Regions from separate parts of the Homo sapiens genome. Here all the other regions are linked to region 6. Evidence: promoter capture Hi-C in 16 types of primary human blood cells and fetal thymus (Javierre and others, 2016). All regions are on one chromosome and are shown on one strand. Each heading gives the region's core, a stretch centred on a gene start or on the middle of the fragment in contact. The rest is flanking DNA. Distances are from core to core; before and after follow the strand shown. Region 1 overlaps ITSN2 (intersectin 2). Region 2 overlaps LOC105374329 (a long non-coding RNA gene). Region 3 overlaps ITSN2 (intersectin 2). Region 4 has its middle 10 kb from the start of ITSN2. Region 5 overlaps LOC105374329 (a long non-coding RNA gene). Region 6 holds the start of PTRHD1 (peptidyl-tRNA hydrolase domain containing 1). Region 7 has its middle 30 kb from the start of ITSN2.

Region 1 (2,964 bases), core at 399-2,898, 440 kb before region 6:
ACACAAAGGGGGATAAAAATACCTAAGAATAGCTTGTGACTCAGCCTGCATTCCTATAAGGGGTCCCAGGGGGACTGATAATATTTAGCCTATTGTCATCTGTCTCATATCAGAACTAAATATTACAGCAAAACTATTTACTTGACATGAATAAAAAGTACAGAGGGAAAGAAATTCAGACAGATGCTTCACTTTCAAGTAAAACATCACCTCTTTGAAACAAAGACAACTTTTAAGTTTTGAAGCCATACAAGAAAACAAAAGAAAGAATAAGCAGATTCTATATCATCTATATAACAAATATTTAAAACTTCCTTGAAAACAAACTTAAAAGGTAAATGGGGAAAAATCACAACACATGATAAGCAGTTGATATTTTTAATGTACATAGGGCTATTAAAATAGATAACGAAAACACTAAGACCTCAAATAAATAATCTACGAAAGAAGAAACAGAAGAAATAAAAGTAGTTAATAAATGTTAACATCACTAATAATTAAGAAAACGAGGCTACCCACAGTGGCTCATGCCTGTAATCCCAGCACTTTGGGAGGCTGAGTGGGGGCGAATCGTCTGAACTCAGGAGTTTGAGGCCAGCCTGGGAAACATGGTGTAAACCTGCCTCAATAAAAACTACAAAAAAATTAGTTGGTCCCAGCGGGAGGCTGAGGTGGGAGGATGGCTTGAGCCCAGGAGAAGGAGGTTGCAGTGAGCTGAGATGGCAGTGAGCTGAGATCCCGCCACTGCACTCCAGCCTGGGCAACAGAGCCAGACCCTGTCTCAAAGACAAAACAAAACAAAACACTGGCCAATACCCAGGGCTAGCAAAGGTGAATTAAATAGGGTGCTTGCAGGTACAGCCCATGGGAATACGTATTGGTATCACTCTTCAGAAGGCACTGTGAAAACATATATCAAGAGTCCCACCAACATTCATATCCTATAAAGCAATAATTTCATTTCTGGGAATCTGTCATAAGGAAATAACAGTAAATGTGGGAAATGCTTTAATTACAAAGATATGGCAGCATTAGTAATCATTGAAAAAAACTAAAAATGAATGTCCAAAAATAAAGGAATATACTAAGCCAAGTATCATGCTTCCACTTAAAATCAAATTCATATGATATGTGAATTAAATCTCAATAAAGCTATTTTGTGATCAAGTTCAGTTAGACCACATAATAACATGGAAACTGCTTATGTTCTTACAATTTAAAACTTACATTTTGATATAAATGTGCATATTTATTATGAAAATTAAAACAGCAGCCATCAATCATCAATATTTACTAAGTGCCAAGCCCTACACTACAAGTTGTTACATGTTATCATGGTTACCTCATTATCACTGATACCATCACCAGGCCCATCCTGGAAGGGTCTCAGGCCCAAGGCCATCACCAACTGTGGGGCTGGCCCAAGATAAACCACACTTTAAAGAAGGCTTCACTAAACATTTTCATAGGCCCCTTGAGAATGTTAAAAACAAATTTGGAAATTGAGCCCAGTGGGATTGTGGGTCTGTACTACCCTACTTTTCAGCCTTCTTATATAGATTATTCCGATGGTAAGATTAAAAATTAAGGGCAAAAGGCTAATTTCCTTTCCAGTCACGGTGTAAAACAAAGACCAAAATAAGAACTATGTTAGGTTAGTTTGAAATTTCTCACTGAACCAAGTTAAAACAACAGGTAACATTAGGCACTTACACTAAGCAGAAGTCACTGTGCTAAGCACTTTATATTACATATAACAACACTAGGAACTAGCTAATATTTCCCCATTTCACACATAAGGAAACAGAAGCTGAAGAGAATTAAAGTAACTTGCCCAAGATTATACAGTTATTTGGTGTCAGAGCTGGAAGCAGGTCTAACTTCAGAGGCTGTACTCTTATCCTCTATGGTTATGATGAAAATAAATGAAATTTTTATTAAAATCACATATACTTTATCTAAAATGAATACGCATTCGTGAAGAAAATGATCTTAAAAATATGAAACAGTTAAATAAAACAAATGTTTACCGTCTGGTAATAGTCCCCTAATCCACTAAATGTCTGCCATAATCCACTGCTGAATAGCTCCACAAGTAAATAAATCATTTAATGTCCTGATGTATCTATGAAATTATATTTTAAGTGAACCTTTTGAAACAATACTATACATTCTGCAAATGAAATATGCTGCCCTCTTGGAGCTGTGAAAATACATATTTCTTGATCTATTAACTGTCCTAATTCTGTTCAGTTTCCTCCCTTCCTCTCCCACTTCCTCTTTGCTCTCATATCCTTTAAGACCAGTTCAGTTCCTCCTCCTCAAGAATACCTATATTCACACTTTACCCAAGAGAACTCTAACATTAGTTTCTGCGCTCCACAGCTGTAGGATGTTACAAAATCCAAAAAATGAACTCAAGTAAAAAATACAGTATTTCTGATGTACCTTCAACTTTAGATCTATCCACTTACAGAATTAATTATAAACATTCTTATTTTTCTACTTCACACTTGGAATCCTGTCTTTAAAATCAGCACACAGTAACCAAAACAGCATGGCACTGGTACCAAAACAGACATATAAGCCAATGGAGCAGAACAGAGACCTCAGAAATAACACCACACATCTACAACCATCTGATCTTCAACAAACAAGACAAAAACAAGCAATGGGGAAAGGATCTCCTATTCTGTAAATGGTGCTGGGAAAATTGGCTAGCCATATGCAGAAAACTGAAACTGGACCACTTCCTTACACCTTATACAAAAATTAACTTGAGATGAATTAAAGACTTAAATATAAAATCCAAAACCATAAAACCCTAGAAGAAAACCTAGGCAATACCATTCAGGACATAGGCATGGGCAAAGACTTCATGACAAAAATGCCAAAAGCAATTGCAACAAAAGCCAAAATTGACAAATAGGATCTAATTAAACTAAAGAGCTTCTGCACAGCAAA
Region 2 (3,324 bases), core at 598-3,097, 380 kb before region 6:
GTGGGGCTGCTTTGGCCGGGGCTTCACCCTTAGCTCAGGCACAGAGCTTCTGATCTAAATCAATCCAAAGCTTGCATTTCCAGCAAAAGTATCATTTCTTCTCATTGGCTATGAATGAGGCTTCCATTCATCAGTCATTTTTCTGGGGACTTCTGAGGGAAAGATTCTTTCTCTGTCCTGCTAGATTTTTACCTGAGGGAATGTGAGGCCCAAAGTTGCTGCAGCCATCTTGACATCTTCAGTGGGAGCCAGTCTGAGAACAGAGGTGAGAGAGAGAGAGGGAGAGAGAGAGAGAAGCAGACCCTCGTGATACATTTCAACCTTTAAGCCAAGATAGCAGCAAGCCCTATTTCCAGACTTTTCAGTTACATAATCAAGTAAATTTGCTGCTTTGTTTAAGCATCTTTCTCTTTCCCTCTCACCTTCTGTCATGGGATGACTCAGCAAGAAGGCCCTTGCAAGATGCTGACACCTTGATATTGGACTTCCTAGCCTTCAGAACTGTGAAGAATAAATTTCTTTTCTTTATAAGTTGCCTAGTCGCTGGTATTCCCTTATAGCAGCACAAAATGGACTAAGACGGGCACGATAGATTGACCTGGCTGTGTGACTGCAATCTCTGGGCTTGGCTGAGGGCCATTTGTGCCTGGAATTGGAGGACACTGTGAAGACATTGTCCATTTCAGAAAGGCTTTGTTCCTAAGTCAGTGCCTCTGGCCTTCTCCACAGTGACCTTTGCCACACTCCACCCCAGGGGTCCACATTCTTGTCAAAGGGTGAGAAATCTTTTGTGACTGGCCATGATGATGCCATTGTAACACAGGTGGCCAATCAGTTTATACATCTGTTTATCCCCTTAAACAGGTCATTTATTTTCATGCACAATTGAAACTGTAAGTCAAACTCTGCTTCTTTATGGTGGTAAATAGTACGTTGATTATGCTAAAGAAAGATTATTATCGTAAGTGAACACCTGTGTCTTGTATCACAGTGGTACTACATCAGGGAAACCTGGTGGTCTGTTTTATTTATTTATTTACTTATTCAAGAGACAGGATCTCATTCTGTCACACAGGCTGGAGTGCAGTAGCACAATTGTAGCTCATTGCTCTAACTCCTATGCTCAAACAATCCTCCTGCCTCAATCTCTCAAGTAGCTGGGACTGCAGGTGTGTGCCATACAGTCAGCTAATTTTTTTGTTTTTGTTTTTGAGACAGAGTCTCTCGCTCTGTCGCCCAGGCTGGAGTGCAGTGGCACAATCTTGGCTCACTGCAACCTCCGCCTCCTGGGTTCAAGTGATTCTCCTGTCTCAGCCTCCCGAGTTGCTGGGATTACAGGCATACACCACCACGTCCAGCTAATTTTTTTGTATTTTTAGTAGAGATGAGTTTTCATCATGTTGGTTAGGCTGGTCTCGAACTCCTGACCTCAAATGATCGCCCGCCTCAGCCTCCCACAGTGTTGGGATTATAGGCATGAGCCACTGGGCCTGGCCTAATTTTTTTTTTTTTTTTTAGATTTTGTAGAGGCAGGGTCTTCCTATGTTGCCCAGGCTGGTCTTGAACTCTTGGCCTCAAGTAATCCTCCCACTTTGGTCTCCAAAGTACCAGGATTACAGATGGGAGCCACCATGCCTGGCCATGTTTTATTTTTAATAGGAAATTTGTTCGCATGGCTGAAAGCTCAAAGGGTACAAATAAATGTTTGTGAAAACTTTCCTTCCCGCTCCTGTTTCCCAGGTGCCCAATTCTCTTCCCCAGAGCTAATCCATTTCATGCTTTTGATGTAGCCTCCCAGAGTGACTTTATGCATATTTAAGCAAACAATGTATTATATTCCCCCTTTGCCTCAACACTGGTGTATGGACCTTCTGAGCCTTGCTCTTTTCACTGAAGATATCTTGGATGTACTTGCATGTAGTACATAAAGAGCTTCTTCATTCTTTTTGGTAGCGTCTGAGTATCCCACAATTTCATAATAGCATGATTTCATTAATGTCTGTTGATGGACATTTCAGTTGCTTTGTATCTTTGGCTCTTGAAAACAATGCTACAATAAACAATCTTGTACATATGTCATTCTGCACTTGGGTAAATATATTTTTGCAGTAAATGTCTAGACGTAAAGTTTTTGGGCCAAGGGTATATGTGTTTGTATATCCTCCCCAACACACACTTTTTTAGTTTAGTTTTTTTTTTATTTTTTATTTAAGATGGAGTCTTGCTTTGTTGCCGAGGCTGGAATGCAATGGCCCGATCTCGGCTCACTGCAACCATCTACCGGGCTCAAGCGATTCTCCTCCCTCAGACTCCCAAGTAGCTGGGATTACAGGCGTGCGCCATCATGCCCTGCTAATTTTGTATTTTTAGTAGAGACAGGGTTTCACCATGTTGGCCAGGCTGGTCTTGAACTCCTGACTTCAGGTGATCTACCTGCCTTGGCCTCCCAAAGTGCTGAAATTATGCTAGGCTTAGGTTTTATTATACTCGAAAAAATAATGCCTACCATGGGAAGAAAATCCAAATAGAATAAAAGTGTATGTATATAGGCCAGGCGCGGTGGCTCACGCCTGTAATCTCAGCACTTTGGGAGGCCGAGGTGGGCGGATCACCTGAGGTCGGGATTTCAAGACCAGCCTGACCAACATGGAGAAACCTTGTCTCTACTAAAAGTACAAAATTAGCCGAGGTGGTGGTGCATGCCTGTAATCCCAGCTACTTGGGAGGCTGAGGCAGGAGAATCGCTTGAACCTGGGAGGCGGAGATTGCAGTGAGCCAAGGTCGCGCCATTGCACTCCAGCCTGGGCAGCAAGAGCGAAACTGCCTCAAAAAAAAAAAAAAGTGTGTGTGTGTGTGTGTGTGTGTATATATATATATATAATATACATATACATATATATACACATATACATATATATACACACACACACACACACAGATATATATATATATATATACACACACATACAGTAAAAAGTAAGTCCTCTTACTCTTTGGTTTCCAGGCTCCCTCCCTGGAGGTAACCACTGTTTGTGTGTGTACTTCTAGATATATGCATATACAAACATATATATATGAATAAGTATATGTCATCATTTGCCTTTGCTTAAAAGGTATATACTACACATACTATTCTGCACCTTGAGTTTTTAATTAATATGTCTGGAGTTTATTGCATACCAGTAAGTATAGATCAACTTCATCCTCTCGTTATCTTTTTTTTTTTGAGACAGAGTCTCGTTCTGTTGCCAGGCTGGAGTGCAGTGGTGCTATCTCAGCTCACTACAACCTCCGCCTCCTGAGTTCAAGCAATTCTCCTGCTTC
Region 3 (3,069 bases), core at 442-2,941, 460 kb before region 6:
AAATATAACATTTTTACTTCTTCAATTTTAAATCATAAGTAATGTTAACCCAAAATAAGCTACATGGCTAAAAACAAACTATCTACTTAACAGATATGCAGTAGCAAGGGCCCTTATTCATTAGTTTTCTGTGGCTGAGACCATTTTAAAACATGGGAGAAAACCCACTATTGCAAATAATGCATTTTCTAACTCTGCATAATAGCATGTGAATTATAAAGATGGCTCTAACAACAGAAAAACCAACGAGGAATGGGATCCCATGGACACAAGGCCTTAATCAGTTGGGATCTAGGTCTAAAACTTACAAATCATCTGTCTAGAACCATTTGTTCGTCATCACGTATTCTGTGAATACAAAAGAATGCCAAATAGAGAGCAACGTGAAGAAGAAGACGCGAGAACGAACCCCGGACTGACCAAAGCCTGCATGCCACTGCATCCTGTGCCAAGTGCTTACCTCCTGCCACCGTTGCCACCACCATGCCCAAGAGAAAGGGTGAAGGGGATGCTAAAGGAGATAAAGCCAAGGTGAAGAACGAACCACAGAGAAGACCCATGAGGTTGTCTGCTAAACCTGCTCCTCCAACGCCAGAGCCCAAGCCTGAAAAGGCCCCTGCAAAGAAGGGAGAGAAGGTACCCAAAGGGAAAAAGGGAAAAGCTTATGCTGGCAAGGAGGGGAATAACCTTGCAGAAAATGGAGATGCTAAAACAGACGGGGCACAGAAAGCTGAAAGTGCTGGAGATGCCAAGTGAAGTGTGTGTATTTTTTATAACTGTGTACTTCTGGTGACAGTAGTTTGAAATACTATTTTTTATCAAGTTTTATAAAAAATGCAGAATTTCATTTTACTTTTTTTTTTTTTTAGATGAATTCTCGCTCTATCGCCCAGGCTGGAGTGCAGTGGCGTGATCTTGGCTCACTGCAACCTCCACCTCGTGGGTTCACGCGATTCTCCTGCCTCAGCCTCCTGAGTAGCTGGGATTACAGGCAGGCGCCACCACACCTGGCTAATTTTTGTATTTTTAGCAGAGATGGCGTTTCACCATGTTGGTCAGGCTTGTCTCGAACTCCTGACCTCAGGTGATCCACCTGCCTCAGCCTCCCAAAGTGCTGAGATTATAGGCATGAGCCACTGCACCCGGCCACTTTTTTTTTTTTTTTTTTTTAAGGCAGAGTTTCGCTCTTGTTGCTCAAGCTGGAATGCAATGGCGCGATCTTGGCTGACTGCAACCTCCGCCTCCCAGGTTCAAGCAATTCTCCTGCCTCAGCTTCCCAAGTAGCTGGGATTACAGTTGCGCATCATCACGCCCGGCTAATTTTTTGTATTTTTAGTAGAAATGGGGTTTCACTATGTTAGCCAGGCTGGTCTTGAACTCCTGACCTCAGGTGATCCACCTGCCTCAGCCTCCCAAAGTGCTGGGATTACAGGCATGAGCCACTGTGCCCAGCCTACTTTTTTTTTTTTTAAGCTATGTTGTTAGCACACAGAACACTTCATTGTTGTTTTTGGGGGAAGGGCCATATGTCACTAATAGAATGTCTCCGAAGCTGGACTAATGTGGAGGAAACACCTTTCCCTTCTAGTTTTGAGAGAGTTCCTCTTGGCTCCCAGGAGGAGGGATTCCCTGACTTTAACACACATGGCCACCTTGGCACAAAAGCCTTGTGGTATGGAAAACAAATTTGTTTTTATGTCCTCTTCTCCCTTTCCGTCCTTCAGCAGAGACTTAACTCCCTTAAACCCAGACATCTGTTGAGACCTGACCCCCCAATCATTAGTTACCAGTGTGTCAGGCAATCTGGACTTTCCAGTGATGCCACTGAGACGGCACCTGTCAAAAGAGCAGTGGTTCTTCAGATAAATTCTGCCATTTTCATTTCACTTCCTGAAAGTCAGGGTCGGCTGGGAAAAGTTGTTAAACAATATGCTAAATGTGAAATGTCAACCCTCACTCTAAACTTTCCCTGTTCACAGCATCAGATGAAGACTTCATTGGGTTTTAGAGTGGCTTTCAAGAAGGGAGTTTGAAAGTTGTTGTGGCCAGGCGCAGTGGTTCATGCCTGTAATCCCAGCACTTTGGGAGGCCAAGGCAGGCAGATCACCTGAAGTCAGGAGTTCAAGACCAGCCTGACCAACATGGTGAAACCCCATCTCTACTAAAAATACAAAATTAGCCAGGCGTGGGGCACATGCCTGTAATCCCAGCTACTTGGGTGGCTGCGGCAGGAGAATCGCTTGAACCCAGGAGGTGGAGGTTGCAGTGAGCCAAGATCAGGCCATTGCACTCCAGCATGGGCAACAAGGGCAAAACTCCGTCTCAAAAAAAAAGGAAAATTGTTGTATACTCAATGATTGTCTGCCCATGTCCTGCCTGAAATACCATGATTGTTTACGGAAAGTATCTTTAATAAAGCTGGATACAGTTTGGCTTGGGAAAAAAAAAAAGAATGCCAAATAGTAGATGCTCAGTAATCACAGGCATAATTCTGAAATAAAACCTGAGAATGAACTAAATATTAATAATATTACTGGCAATAAGGGCAAATCCCTTGGGTAAAGCTGAAGGTACTAGTATTACAGAATCTTTATCATCTGGTATGTGGAATTTAGCCACCCATGCACATAGGTACCATATTATATGTAACATTTATATTGTATGTAACATCTGATTAACTGTGGTAACATCTAAATATGGGAGTATATTTTGTTGGAACCAATAAGCTTTTAAAACATATCATTTCATATCTATTACATTTCTATTCTCTCTGCCCCACTGTGGAATAATTACCTAATGCTTAACAATTCTACTAGTCTATTTGCAGAGTAGTACTTAACAATTATAATTGAAATTTTGAAAATGCAACAGATACCAAAAACTTTGTTTTACATTTTTCAAAAAGCAATTAATAAATTAACATTTACTGTTTACCATTAATTCAATACACTTCTGTTGATCACAGTAGATGTACTGTGTCATGCTGAGTATTCATTGAGAATCCAATGTTTCAGGTTCTGCAGAAGGAGCTTCAGACACTGACAAGCTTGTAGACTTATCTACCAGGTG
Region 4 (3,043 bases), core at 443-2,942, 420 kb before region 6:
AAAGGCTCACTGTGGTGAGATTTTTTTTTCATGTGTTTCAAAAAGGAATAAGCCTCACTTCCCATTTCAATAATTTCAGCAGGTGCTTTTCTTATGCCTTTGTATAGGGAAACATAAAACTCTTAATTTCGTATGTAAGTGACCAGGTATTTGTATCAGTTAAAATGTTTGGTTGCAAATAACGGGGATCAACTCAAAGGGCTTAGGCAAAAAAAGAATTAATTATATACAAGGTAAGTGGAGTGTGCCAGTGTCACCAAGGACAGGAGTGGGGCCAGGCAAAATGGAATTAGGGACTGAACACTGTCCAGGGACCCTCTCTGTCTCACCTCTGCACTTGTGCTTCATCTTCTCAATAGAGAGAGGGTGGGATGTATAGTGGAGCACAGATAATTTTTTTTTTTTTTTTGAGACACCATCTCATTCTGTCACCCAGCCTCAAGTACAGTCGTGAGATCATGGCTCACAGCAGTCTCAACCTCCCACACTCAAGTGATCCTCCCCCAACTTAGCCTCCCAAGTAGCTGGGACTGCAGGTGAGTGCCACCATGCCTGGCTAATTTTTTTTTTCTACATGTTGCCCAGGCTGGTCTAAAACTCCTGTACTCTAGCAACCCTCCTGCCAGCCCCCCAAAGTGCTGGGATTACAGGCATGAGCCATCACGCCTGGCAGATCACTCTTTTTTTTTTGAGATGGAGTCTCGCTCTGTCGCCCGGGCTGGAGTGCAGTGGTGCGATCTCGGCTCACTGCAACCTCCACCTCCCGGGTTCAAGCAATTCTTCTGCCTCAGCCTCCCGAGTAACTGGGACTACAGGTACATGCCACCACACCCAGCTAAGATGGATTGATATATTTTACTTCCTTTAGATGCTTAGGAAGAATCTAGGTGATAGCAAAGGGCTTTCTTTTACTATTGGATTTTGTCATTTGGAACAACAGGAGAGCGTAACTGAAATTGTATTACAACTCTAGCATTGTCTTCTTAAGTTCAATGTTCTTTCCTGGAACAGCAGCAATGTCATTGTTAGAAGATTAAAAATATAAAATTCTACCTTCAAATCAAAAAATTCTGGTTAGAATTATAGTAACTTCTTAGGGATTTACAGAAAGAACTGGCCGGGTGCACTAGCTCGTGCCTGTAATCCCAGCACTTTGGGAGACCGAGGCGGGTGGATTACCTGAGGTTGGGAGTTCAAGATCAGCCTGGCCAATATGGTGAAACTCCATTTCTACGAAAAATACAAAAATTAGCCAGGCGTGGTGGTGGCTGCCTGTAATCCCAGCTACTTGGGAGGCTGAGGCAGGAGAATCACTTGAACCTGGGAGGCGGAGGTTGCAGTGAGCCGAGATCGCGGCACTGCACTCCAGCCTGGGCAACAGAGGGAGACTCTGTCTCAAAAAAAAAAAAAAGAAAAAGAAAGGACCTTGAACTTTGTGCCTTTCAAGTTAGCCTTGCTTTTAATTTGATGTAGTGTGTAGTCTAAATGGATTCAGTTTTGTCATTTATAGGGTAAGCCTTGGGGCAGGGACCAGGTTTTGACATGTACTTATCAGCTTATACTACACTCTCAATATTTAGAAAATAATAATTAATGGTTGGGTATTGAGTGTTTGGCACAAAATCCTGACTCTAAGTATAATTAACTTTAAGAGCTATTTTGGTGTCTGATGAACGCTTTTCATAGCTTCTTAAATGAGTCAGGAATGTATCCCATGGCTGAGACATGTTGAAATTTAGAATACACAAATATAAATTGCCTAATGAACATGAACATCATGTGATTCTAATTTAAAAACTGTAAAAGGCTGGGCACAGTGGCTCACACCTGTAATCCTAGCACTTTGGGAGGCCAAGGCAGGTGGATCACTTGAGCACAGGAATTCAAGACCAGCCTGGACAACATGGTGAAATCCCATCGCTACAAAAAAAAAAAAAAATTAGCTGGACGTGATGGCATGTGCCTGTAGTCCCAGCCACCTGGAAGGATGAGGTAGGAGGATGGTTTGAGCTCAGGAGGCGGAGGTTGCAGTGAGCAGTGATCACACCACTGCAACTCCAGCCTGACGGACAGAGCCAGACCCTGTCTCAAAAACAAACAAGTTGTAAAAATACTGGAATTGGTATCATCAAGATTGGATTCAGTGTTTAGAAGCCCTAAACGCTGAAACACCCATGTATGAAATTAAATAAAAAGAAAAACATGAAATAACTTAGCCAGGTGTAGTGATGTGTGTCTGTAGTCCCAGCTACTTGGGAGGCTGAGGCAGGAGGATGGCTTGAGCCCAGAAATTCAAGGTTGCAATGGGTCAGGATCATGTCACTGAACTCCAGCCTGGGCAACAGAGCAAGACGTTGTCTCAAAACCCAAAAACAAAAACAAAAAAATTGCTTGATAACTATTTCAACACTTTTTTTTTTTTTTTTTTGAGATAGAGTCTCACTCTGTCACCAGGCTGGAATGCAGTGGCGCAGTCTTGGCTCACTGCAACCTCTCCCTCCCAGGTTCGAGTGATTCTCCTGCCTCAGCCTCCTGAGTAGCTAGGACTACAGGCATGTGCCACCACGCCCAGCTAATTTTTGTATTTTTAGTAGAGACAGGGTTTCACCATGTTGGCCAGGATGGCCTCGATCTCTTGACCTTGTGATCCGCCCGCCTCGGGCTCCCAAAGTGCTGGGATTACAGATGTGAGCCACTGCGCCCAGTTCAACACATTGTTTTTTGTTTTTGTTTTTTTTTGAGACAGAGTCTTGCTCTGTCGCCCAGGCTGAAGTGCAGTGGCACATGTCAGCTCACTGCAAGCTCCACCTCTCGGGTTCAAGCCATTCTCCTGCCTCAGCCTCCCAAGTAGCTGGGACTACAGGCACCTGCCACCACACCCAGCTAATTTTTTGTAATTTTAGTAGAGACGGGGTTTCACCGTGTTAGCCAGGATGGTCTCAATCTCCTGACCTCGTGATCCATCAGCCTTGGCCTCCCAAAGTGTTGGGATTACGGGCGTGAGCCACCGCGCCCGGCCCTCAACACATTTTTTATAAAAATG
Region 5 (3,049 bases), core at 529-3,028, 360 kb before region 6:
GAATTGGCTCAGAAGCCATTGGCTCCGAAGAAACTCAGTTGAAGAGTTCCAAAAACGCAGCATCGTTGACCTAAGTGTGTGGTCTCTATAGAACACATTTTCAGCCGTAGAATGTGGCATTGCTATCCATCAAGTCGCCATCTTTCAGACTCTCAGGCTAGAAACTTTAGAAGCTGTCATGAGTCATCCACCGTTCTTCCCTTCCACATCTAAGCAGTCATTAAGTCCTGCCAGGTTTACCTCAGGAATAGCCTCAGCCCACAGTGCCTCCTTGTCTAATATCTAGACAATAGATGCTAGTCTCTCCCGTTTGCAATCAATCCTTCCCCAACTCCCCAAAGTTATTCCCCTGTAACCAGTATATTAAACAAGATGGATTTGGGATGGCTCAAACAGAAAGCACTTGTCCTATCTTATAACTATGCTGTGGTTTGAATGTGTCCCCCGAAATTCATATGTTGGAAATTTAATCCCCAATGCAATGGTGTTGAGAGGTGGGATCTTTAAGCCGTGATTAGGTCATGAGGGCTCTGTTTTCACTGATGGTTTAAGGTCATTACTGAGGGAGTGGGTTTGTTACTGCCAGAGTTGGTTCCTGATAAAGGGATGATTTCAGCCCTCTCCCCTCCCCTCATTGCCTCCTTCTCCCCTCTCCTCTCTCTCTCCTTCCCTCTCTTCCTCTCTTTCATGTGCATGCATGGGTCCATGCTGTCTTGCCCTTCCACCTTTTGCCATGGGATGATGCGGCAAGAAGGTCCCTGGTAGGCTGGATGTGTTGGTTCACACCTGTAATCCCAGCACTTTGGGAGGATGAGGTGGGAGGATCTCTTAGCCCAGGAGTTTGAGAGCAGCTTGGGCAACAATAGTGAGACCTCATCTCTACAAAAAATAAAAAAATTAGCTGAGTGTGGTGGCATGTGCTTGTAGTCCGAGCTACTGTGGAGGCTGAGGTGGAAGAATTGCTTGAGCCCCGGAGGTCCAGGCCACAGTGAGCCATTATTGCACCACTGCACTCCAGCCTGGGCAACAGAGCAAGACCCAGTCTCAAAAAAAAAAAAAAAAAAAAGCAAGAGACTGGGTGTGATGGCTCATGCCTGTAATCCCAGCACTTTGGGAGGCTGAGTTGGGTGGATCACAAGGTCAGGAGTTCAAGATCAGCCTGACCAATATGGTGAAACCCCATCTCTACTAAAAAATACAAAAATTAGCCGGGTGTGGTAGCAGGGGCCTGTAAGTCCAGCTACTCGACTGAGCCTGGAGAATTGCAGATTGCGCCACTGCACTCCAGCCTGGGTGGCAGAGTGAGACTCTGTCTCAAAAAAAGAAAGAAAGAAGAAGGTTATCTGATCAATGTGGGCCCCTTGGACTTAGTAGCCTCCAGAACTGTAAGAAATAAATCTCTGCTCTTTAGTAATTATTGTTTCAGATGCTCTGTTAGAGTAGCACAAAATGGATTGAGAAAGAATGTCCCTACTCTCTCAAATCTTTCTTCCCTACCCATCCATGGTTGTCTCTTTTTTCTTTTGAGACAGGGTCTCGCTCTGTCATGCAGGCTGGAGTGCAGTGGTGCAATCATGACTCACTGTAGCTTTGACCTCCTAGGCTCTGCTGAGCCTCTCACCTCAACCTCCCAAGTAGCTGGGACCACAGGCATGCACCACCACACCCAGCTAATTTTTGTATTTTTTTGTAAAGACAGGGTTTCCTCATTTTACTCAGGCTGGTCTCCAACTCCACGGCCCAAGTGATCTGCCCACCTCGGCCTCCCAAAGTGCTGGGATTACAGGCGTGAGACATGGCACCCAGCCCCTACCCATGGTTTTCCGTTTATCATCAGGTATTGAAAAGTTCAGTCCAATCAAATATCAAAATTTTAATTTCTTATCCAAATTAAAGTTCTCCCTGTCACTAGTGTGAGCAAACTTAGGCTTGCAAGCATATAGGGAAGAAGGGGGTTCCAGTCATTGTCTTCTCTTTGTTTCTCCTCCTCTTGCATTAGCTGGGCCCAGGAGAGAGGGGATTAAATAAACAGAGGCCTTCAGTGGCTCTTGAGTTGTAATCACAGCACCCTTGGTAAGTAGCAGATCTAACGGGTATTTCTCTAGTGAGGTGCTTTTGAGAATTTGTTTAGAGACCCTTCCTCCTTTGGCCCTCCTACTAAGCATTCCCTTGACTTGGACAGTGCCCATTTTAGCTAGGCTCTTCCATTCTCCCCTTTATGACTTGAATTCCAGTTGACCATCCCGCATAGTGTTTCTTATGTTGGAATCATCCAGAAGGTCCTCTTAGATAGGGTCTGTAAGATGACTCAAGTCCAGCTTTCTTCCTCATGTCCCCCTGGCACAAACTTCCCCACTGTTTCTGCAAGTGTGGCTTGTTCCTTCTGGGTCCCCTGGCTTTGCTCTACTGCCACCCACCAGCCTTCCACTCAAGAACTTTTTCCACTGATATCAGAACGCAGCCTCTCTGTCCCTTCTCTTAGGAAGCCTGGAGATGGGTGAAGGTCTAACCATGGCAGAACTGGCACAAGGCCACTCTCTTTGCAAGTCCTGCCTGGACAGTCTTGTACCTCACTTAGGATGTGGAGGAGGGACTGAAACCTATTGTTCTCAGTTTTGAAGCCTCAGCCAAAACTCTGAGAAAGGAAAAGCCCTATTTTAACATGCTGTTACATTCCTTTAAAAACATCACATATTGTTTTGTTTTGTTTTAATTAACTGTTCCAAGTTTTTTCTTTTCTTTTCTTTTTCTTTCTTTCTTTCTTTTTTTTTTTTTTTTGAGATGGAGTTTCGCTCTTGTTGCCCAGGCTGCAATGCAATGGCGCAATATTAGCTCACTACAACCTCCACCTTCCGGGTTCAAGTAATTCTCCTGCCTCAGCCTCCTGAGTAGGTGGGATTACAGGCACGCGCCAACAGGACGTGCGTCTAGCTAATTGTTGTATTTTTAGTAGAGACAGGGTTTCGCCACGTTGGCCAGGCTGGTCTCGAACTCCTGACCTCAGGTGATCCACCCACCTTGGCTTCCCAAAGTGCTAGGATTATAGGCG
Region 6 (3,332 bases), core at 742-3,241:
ACTGCCAATTCACCCATGCTGAATCCCATTCCAGGAAGTATTAAAACGATCACTCAGAAAATTATTATTTTTGTGTTATTTTGCATAAAGTTTATCTCTTACCTATGAAGGCAGAAGCCACTAAGCTACTCAGAGGCTTGTTTTAATAAATTAGAGAATGCCAGTATTGCGACTCTTAACCTGCTGAGTCCTTCTGGCAGAGCTCTGCTGGAGGACTCATCAGCTTCTTCAGCCTCGGGCAGCAGCAGAGCATAGTGAGATACAGTGAGGCTCTGGAATCAGACTACTGGACTCCAAACTCTTGCTGACTGTGTGATCGTGGATAAGTTAGGTGACTTCGCTGGCCTCTTCGTCCCTTTATAAAACAGGAATAATGCTTCCTAATGGGGATCAATGAAATCAGGCTTGGACCTGTGCCTGGCACACACTAAGCACTCAATAAATGTAGTTAATCCTGGTATTTTCTTATATTTTATTGGCCCTTCTGACTACAGCGGCACCTCAATGTAATCAGTAGCGACTCCTAAGTCCCTTTCTTGAGTCATGACTAACAACTAAGAATCATGAGACCCTCTTTTAAACTCAGGGGAGTCACTTAATCCCTGTAGGCTTCAGAGAGTTTCACCTGCGACAAGAGGAGTCTAACCTGATTTCTTGAGACCTCTTACTAGGAAGAAAATCTAAGTGAAAAGCCAGCAGCTTCTGTTCTGCCTACACAGATTCTCAAGGCATTTTTCCTACAGGTTACCGCTTGATGTTTCACTATCCAGCAGCAATTTTTCTCTTGAAAGATAATCTATCTTTGTCAGTTACCCATGAAGGGATTACTCCACCCCTCCACCTGAGTTCTGGCTTAAAGCCGTTTTTCCTTATTATAAAAAGCCGTTTATTATTAAAGCCGTTTTTCCTTATTATAAAATATGTGCTTAAGGTAGAAAATTTTAAAAATACAGATTAAGCATTAGGAAATAACCAAAATCTCACCATGCACTACTTAATATGTAGATGTATTTCTTTAGTTTTTCCTTTCAAAGTCTGGATCATTCTGTATATATAGTTCAGTTAGCTTCGCATCATGAGCACTCTTCCCGACCACTAAATATGCTTCAAAACCATAAGGGCTCCCATGAATATCCTTGTGCAAAGCTCTTTGGGTGCATCTGATTATTTTCTTAGGCTACATCTCTAGCAGCAGGATAGAGAGTCAAAGGGTAAGGGTGAGATTTGTTTGGTCATCTGCAAACAGAACCTGACTGCTATTTTAAAAGGTGTACCGATTTACACACCTGGTGCCTGGTCTAGCTGAAGCTAGGTTCAATTTATACTAACGTTTTTAGTATTTATTTTCAAATAATTTGGCGTCCTACCCAGGTAAATACTCAGTTTGACTTCACTTTGCACTGTCCCTTCGGGCTCGGTTTTGCAGGAGGACAGCACTTTGGGGCATGGCTTTAAAAAGTCGGCCAGTGCACAGGCGGAACAGCGGGGACACAGGAGCCACCACTTTACCGCGAGCCCAGCAGGGGGCGGAGGACTGCTGTCCACTCTTCACACAGTCAGGCCCTTCCCAAGGGCGCACCTCCAGGGAAACAGCTCCAGTCTAAATGTTAACGATCACCCCAACTCCCGCCGCACCCACTCCCCGCAGCCAGGCCTTCGGACCGAAGACCACACCCACTTCCGCCCTCGATGTCTCAGCACCTCCCCCTCCGCCCGAGTGCCTCACCTCGAGGACCACTTTGCGCATGCGCCCCAGCTCTTGGAGGTAAGCGGCTGTGTGCGGGTGGTCGCGGTGAGTGTGCAAGGCCGCGGTGGCCGCGTGACAAGCCTGCGCTACCAGTGCGCCCGCCGGCCAGGAGAACGGAGCTTGTGATAGATCCTTTCGTAACACCAAGTATTGTACCAGGACCTGCGGCTCCGCCCCAGAGGCCGCCATCTTCCTGACCACCCGAAAGGCCGGACCTACTCCCCGGTGCATCTTGGGATCAGGGCGGGGCCCTGAGCGCCGCCATGCTTTTGTACGGCAGGATCGCAAAGCACGCCGGGACCGGTTGGTTTGGTTTTGAAGACGTGGATGGCGGGAATTCTCGCTTCTGGCCTGGGTGAGCTAGAAGGGAGAAGGTAGGGGAAAGACCCATTGTCGGACCGGACCGTGGCCAGGGTGGCGGGCTGAACGGCCTTCTTAAAACTCCTTCCGTGGCCGGGAAGCCCGCTGGACCAGAGTAGCCGTGGCCTCGGGAGCGCGCCGGGGCCGCGGGATGGGCGCGGGGGTGGGCATGGACTCTGCTGGCTCGGACGATGGGAGAGGGCGGGCGGCTCAGGAAAGGGGATCCTAGCCGTGACATTTGTGTCATCCGCGGCCCAGGGGTTGTGCCTGAGTGGTGTGTGCCCTGCCGTCTGGGTTTGAATGGGACTAGATGTGATGTGACTGTTGCCATTTTTCTTTTATTAGCAAGGACATTGGAGTCCCTATCACCGGTTGCCTAGACAACTTCATGGGAAGGCCCTTGGGAATCTGAGATGGAGCAGGCGAACCCTTTACGTCCAGATGGCGAGTCCAAAGGAGGTATTCAGAGGGTCGCCGCCTCCTTCCTGCTGCTGCCCAAAGATGACCCGCAGGCTGAGAGAGCCCTTTCCTCCTGGAACTGACGTGGGACCTGGCCTGTTTGGGAGCAGAATAGTGAAAGGAACTAACATTGAAGACAAAGGGACAGGCAGCCAAGATTATTCGAGGAGGAAAAATGGCTTCGTTTCTAGGCTCCCACCCCTTTTGAAACGGATAAGTTGCATCCATCATATGCTCAGTGTTTATATTCTGAACTGCGGTTCTAGCCAGGGAGGTCCCTTTCCTCTCCCCGGATTTTTTGGGCCATGTATGCATTACTCTTGAGGGAGGGCCAGTGTAGGGCAGTGACTTTAGTGTTGGCTAGAACTGGTTTTGAGTGTTGGCTCTGCCATGATAAATATTGTGACCTTAGGCAAGTCACTTTATTCTCTGCCTCTGTTTCTTCATCTGGAAAATGGAGGTGAAAATAGCACTGTAGTTGTGGTTGTGGAAAAAGTATTTCTTTTGTGGTGGAAAAGTATTGAACTCAGACTTTTCAAGTGAAGCATTTAGCACATGTCTAATATATAGGAAATATTCAATGAAAGGCTTAATTCTTTACATACTTTGTGTCTTAAAATGTAGAAGGTGTTTAAAGAATGCTTGTTAGAGTTGCTTAGAATTACGAAACTATTACTTTTACTTAGTCCTTAGTCAATCCTTTGGAAACTGAGATTTGCGTTTGAATTTCTGTCCAGGAGTAAGTTGCTTTCTTCTTTAGTGCCTA
Region 7 (2,995 bases), core at 442-2,941, 400 kb before region 6:
GCCCACCTCAGCCTCCCAAAGTGTTGGCATTACAGGCATGAGCCACCGTGCCCAGCCCCATTTTTAATTTTTGAGGAACCACCGTAACTGTTTTCTGCAGCAGCTTCACCATTTCACATTCCCACCAACAGTGCACAAGGATTCCAATTTCTCCACATCCTCGACAATGCTTGCTATTTTCTGGAGTTTATTTATTTATATAGTTTTAAAAATGAGATGGAGTTTAGCCATGTTGTTCAGGCTGGTCTCAAACTCCTGAGCTCAAGGGATCTGCCTGCTGCAGCCTCCCAAAATGCTAGGATTACTGGCTTGAGCCACTATGTCCAATCCTGGAGTTTGTTTTGTTTAGAGTAGCCATCCTAATAGTGTGAAGTGGTATCTCACTGTAGTTTTGATTTGCAATCCCCTAATGATTAGTGATGTTCCCCTCCTTTTCTTTTCATTTTGCCTTCTTTTTTTTTTTTTTTTTGAGACGGAGTCTTGCTGTGTCGCTCAGGCTGGACTGCAGTGGCGCTATCTTGGCTCACTGAAACCTCTGTCTCCCGGGTTCAAGTGATTCTCCTGCCTCAGCCTCCCGAGTAGCTGGGATTACAGGCACCTGCCACCATGCCCAGCTAATTTTTATATTTTTAGTATAGACGGGGTTTCACCATGTTGGCCAGGCTGGTCTCAAACTCCTGACCTCAGGTGATCCACCTGCCTCGGCCTCCTAAAGTGCTGGGTTACAGGCGTGAGCTACCACACCCGGCTGCCTTCATTCTTAAAGGATGTTTTGCTGGCTATAGAATTCTGGATTGATTTACTTTTTTCTGATCCTATACTTGAAGATATTGTTTCACTGTCTTCTGATATCTATTATTTATAAGAAGAAACAGCATTCATTTGTATCATCATTCCCTGCATATAGTGAGTTGTTTTCTCTGGCTTTCAAGATTTTCTCTTTATCTTTGGTTTTCAGCATTTTGACTATACTGTGTGCAGGTATGGTTTTCTTCATATTTTTTTTTTTGGTGGGGAGAGGGTTACTTAGCTTCTTAAATCTATAAATTTATCTTTCAACCTATTTAGAAAATTTCAACCTCTTTTTCTTCAAAATAATTTTTCTGTCCCATATTCTCTTCCTTACTTCTGAGACTCCAGTTACACATATTTTAGCTCTTTTGCTATTTCCCCTCAGTTTCCTGAGAGTCTATTCATTCCCGCCCTCTCCCATCCATTTTCTGTCTGTTACTTAGATTGAGTAATTTTTATTGATTTCTCATCAAGTTTTCTGACTTTTTTCTCCTGTCACCTTCAATCTGCTTCTAAGCCTGTCCAGTAAAGCTTTAAATTTCAGATATTAAACTTTTCAATTGTATAATTTACATTTGGTTACTATAGTTTTTATTTCTCTGCTTGTATTTTCTTTCATTAATTATGAGTAATATTTTCCTTTATATATGTACTCTGTTTGGCACAATTTTAATAGCTGCTTTAAAGTCTTTGTTATAACTCAACATTTGATGCATGTCAGCATCAGACTCTTGAGTACTGGGGTCACATTTCATTTTTATGTCTAGTAATTTCAGATTGTACCTTGGATATTGTAAAAGATACCTTGTAGAAGTTTTGGATTCTGTCACATTTCTCCAAAAGGGTTTGTTTGTTTGTTGTTTTAAGTAGGCAATACATATATCCCTTTCTTCTTTTGTTTAAATGTCAATTTTAGTTTTGCCAGTTGGGTGCAGTGGCTCATGCCTGTAATCCCAGCACTTTGGTAGGTGGAGGCAGGAAAATCACTTGGGCCCAGGAGTTTGAGACCAGCCTGGGCAATGTAGACAGACATCATCTCTACAAAAAATAAGAAATTCGCTGGATATGGTGGCATGCACCTGTGATCCCAGCTACTTGGGAGGCTGAGGGAGGAGGACCCCTTGAGCCTAGGAGGTCAAAGTTGCAGTGAGCCATGATCATGCCATTGCCCTCCAGCCTGGGTGAGACCCTGTCTCTAAAAAATAATAATAATAATTTTTGTCAAAGTGAGATATACACATAATTTTAAAAAGTCTAACACAATGACAAAGCTTGTAATGACAATAGTAGAACACTATACCACCATTTCCACCCTGAAACCTGCCCCTCAGGAAGAAAAACTTTTAATTCTTTCAGCTGTTTCTTCTATTTACATCTACTTTTCTAAAAATATTTCTAAAAATATTCATATATATAGATATACACACATAATTTTCATATGTACATATATATGTATATTCATATATACACACACACTTTTTTTTTTGAGACAGGATCACTCTCTGTTGCACAGGCTGGAGGGCAGTGGCGTGATCATGGTTCACTGCGGCCTTGAACTCCTGGGTTCAAGTGATCTTCCCACCTCAACCTCCTGAGTAGCTGGGACTGCAATTGTGCACCACTATGCCTAGCTAATTTTTAATTTTTCTTTTGTAAAGACAGGGTCTCACTATGTTGAACAGGCTGGTTTCTAACTCCTGGGCTCAGGTGATCCTCCTGCCTCGGCCTTCCAAAGTGTTGGGATTACAGGCATGAACCACCATGCTTGACCTCTCATATTTTTATTTATATGTTATCTATTGACGTTCTATTATGGAGTCACAAAATTTAGCACACTTAAAACCTCCTTCCCTCTCTTCATACTCCCAATATATTTGTAGTACATTTTTGTTTATATCAATATTTATACTGTTTATATTATCTCACTATATAACACTTGCTCAATGTTAAGCCAAGTAATATAATACTGATAAGATAAATTTTTATTCATATTAGAATTAATAATTGCCCTGTGGGTTGTTTTAGCAGTTTTCTATGTAATAATTACTAGTTCAACCTTAAACTTAGCAATATAATGGTGATACCCCTCTGAATGTTGATAATTCCTATTGCCTTCAGCTATGCCTGGTATCCCTATGTTTAGATGCTGTAAGTTTCTTAACACACAGTCAGTCTTCTGCTGGAGTGGGAAAGAAGGTCCATC

Evidence for each region. The method cuts DNA at HindIII sites, captures the fragments that hold promoters and counts their contacts. A CHiCAGO score of 5 or more calls a contact.
Region 1: a fragment that was not itself captured here is called in contact with the fragment with the promoter of PTRHD1 in region 6 in 2 of 17 cell types (monocytes and neutrophils); the score reaches 5.7 in monocytes.
Region 2: a contact is called between a fragment that was not itself captured here and the fragment with the promoter of PTRHD1 in region 6, in 13 of 17 cell types (megakaryocytes, endothelial precursors, M0 macrophages and 10 more). The highest score is 13.7, in megakaryocytes.
Region 3: a contact is called between a fragment that was not itself captured here and the fragment with the promoter of PTRHD1 in region 6, in 1 of 17 cell types (monocytes). The highest score is 5.2, in monocytes.
Region 4: a contact is called between a fragment that was not itself captured here and the fragment with the promoter of PTRHD1 in region 6, in 3 of 17 cell types (neutrophils, fetal thymus and monocytes). The highest score is 9.2, in neutrophils.
Region 5: a fragment that was not itself captured here is called in contact with the fragment with the promoter of PTRHD1 in region 6 in 5 of 17 cell types (endothelial precursors, megakaryocytes, neutrophils and 2 more); the score reaches 10.0 in endothelial precursors.
Region 7: a fragment that was not itself captured here is called in contact with the fragment with the promoter of PTRHD1 in region 6 in 6 of 17 cell types (megakaryocytes, M0 macrophages, endothelial precursors and 3 more); the score reaches 7.7 in megakaryocytes.

Annotation. Positions count from the first base shown.
Region 1 is chr2:24,352,805-24,355,768 of GRCh38, forward strand. All of the region lies in intron 1 of ITSN2 (intersectin 2), which reads right to left. Among named protein-coding and RNA genes, the nearest start is that of ITSN2, 6.2 kb to the right of the region's middle. The HindIII fragment of the contact is 8,462 bases long and covers 1-2,964 here.
Region 2 is chr2:24,411,242-24,414,565 of GRCh38, forward strand. The region is part of intron 2 of LOC105374329 (a long non-coding RNA gene); the gene reads left to right. Among named protein-coding and RNA genes, the nearest start is that of ITSN2, 52 kb to the left of the region's middle. The HindIII fragment of the contact is 3,558 bases long and covers 69-3,324 here.
Region 3 is chr2:24,329,919-24,332,987 of GRCh38, forward strand. The region is part of intron 1 of ITSN2 (intersectin 2); the gene reads right to left. It also overlaps the pseudogene HMGN2P20. Among named protein-coding and RNA genes, the nearest start is that of ITSN2, 29 kb to the right of the region's middle. RefSeq lists an enhancer at 1-45. The HindIII fragment of the contact is 2,065 bases long and covers 660-2,724 here.
Region 4 is chr2:24,369,077-24,372,119 of GRCh38, forward strand. No RefSeq gene overlaps it. Among named protein-coding and RNA genes, the nearest start is that of ITSN2, 10 kb to the left of the region's middle. The HindIII fragment of the contact is 3,412 bases long and covers 1-3,043 here.
Region 5 is chr2:24,429,757-24,432,805 of GRCh38, forward strand. The region is part of intron 2 of LOC105374329 (a long non-coding RNA gene); the gene reads left to right. Among named protein-coding and RNA genes, the nearest start is that of NCOA1, 60 kb to the right of the region's middle. The HindIII fragment of the contact is 3,708 bases long and covers 1-3,049 here.
Region 6 is chr2:24,791,400-24,794,731 of GRCh38, forward strand. It overlaps PTRHD1 (peptidyl-tRNA hydrolase domain containing 1), which reads right to left and starts at 1,992. Exons shown (of 2, transcript NM_001013663.2): 1 at 1,727-1,992. The coding sequence starts at 1,978. CENPO (centromere protein O) reads left to right here and starts at 2,026. Exons shown (of 8, transcript NM_001322101.2): 1 at 2,026-2,102; 2 at 2,453-2,566. The coding sequence starts at 2,521. LOC105369164 (a long non-coding RNA gene) reads right to left here and starts at 1,676. Exons shown (of 3, transcript XR_939843.4): 1 at 1,368-1,676; 2 at 985-1,185; 3 at 1-380. RefSeq lists an enhancer at 1,653-2,082. The HindIII fragment of the contact is 6,911 bases long and covers 1-3,332 here.
Region 7 is chr2:24,389,173-24,392,167 of GRCh38, forward strand. No RefSeq gene overlaps it. Among named protein-coding and RNA genes, the nearest start is that of ITSN2, 30 kb to the left of the region's middle. The HindIII fragment of the contact is 740 bases long and covers 1,322-2,061 here.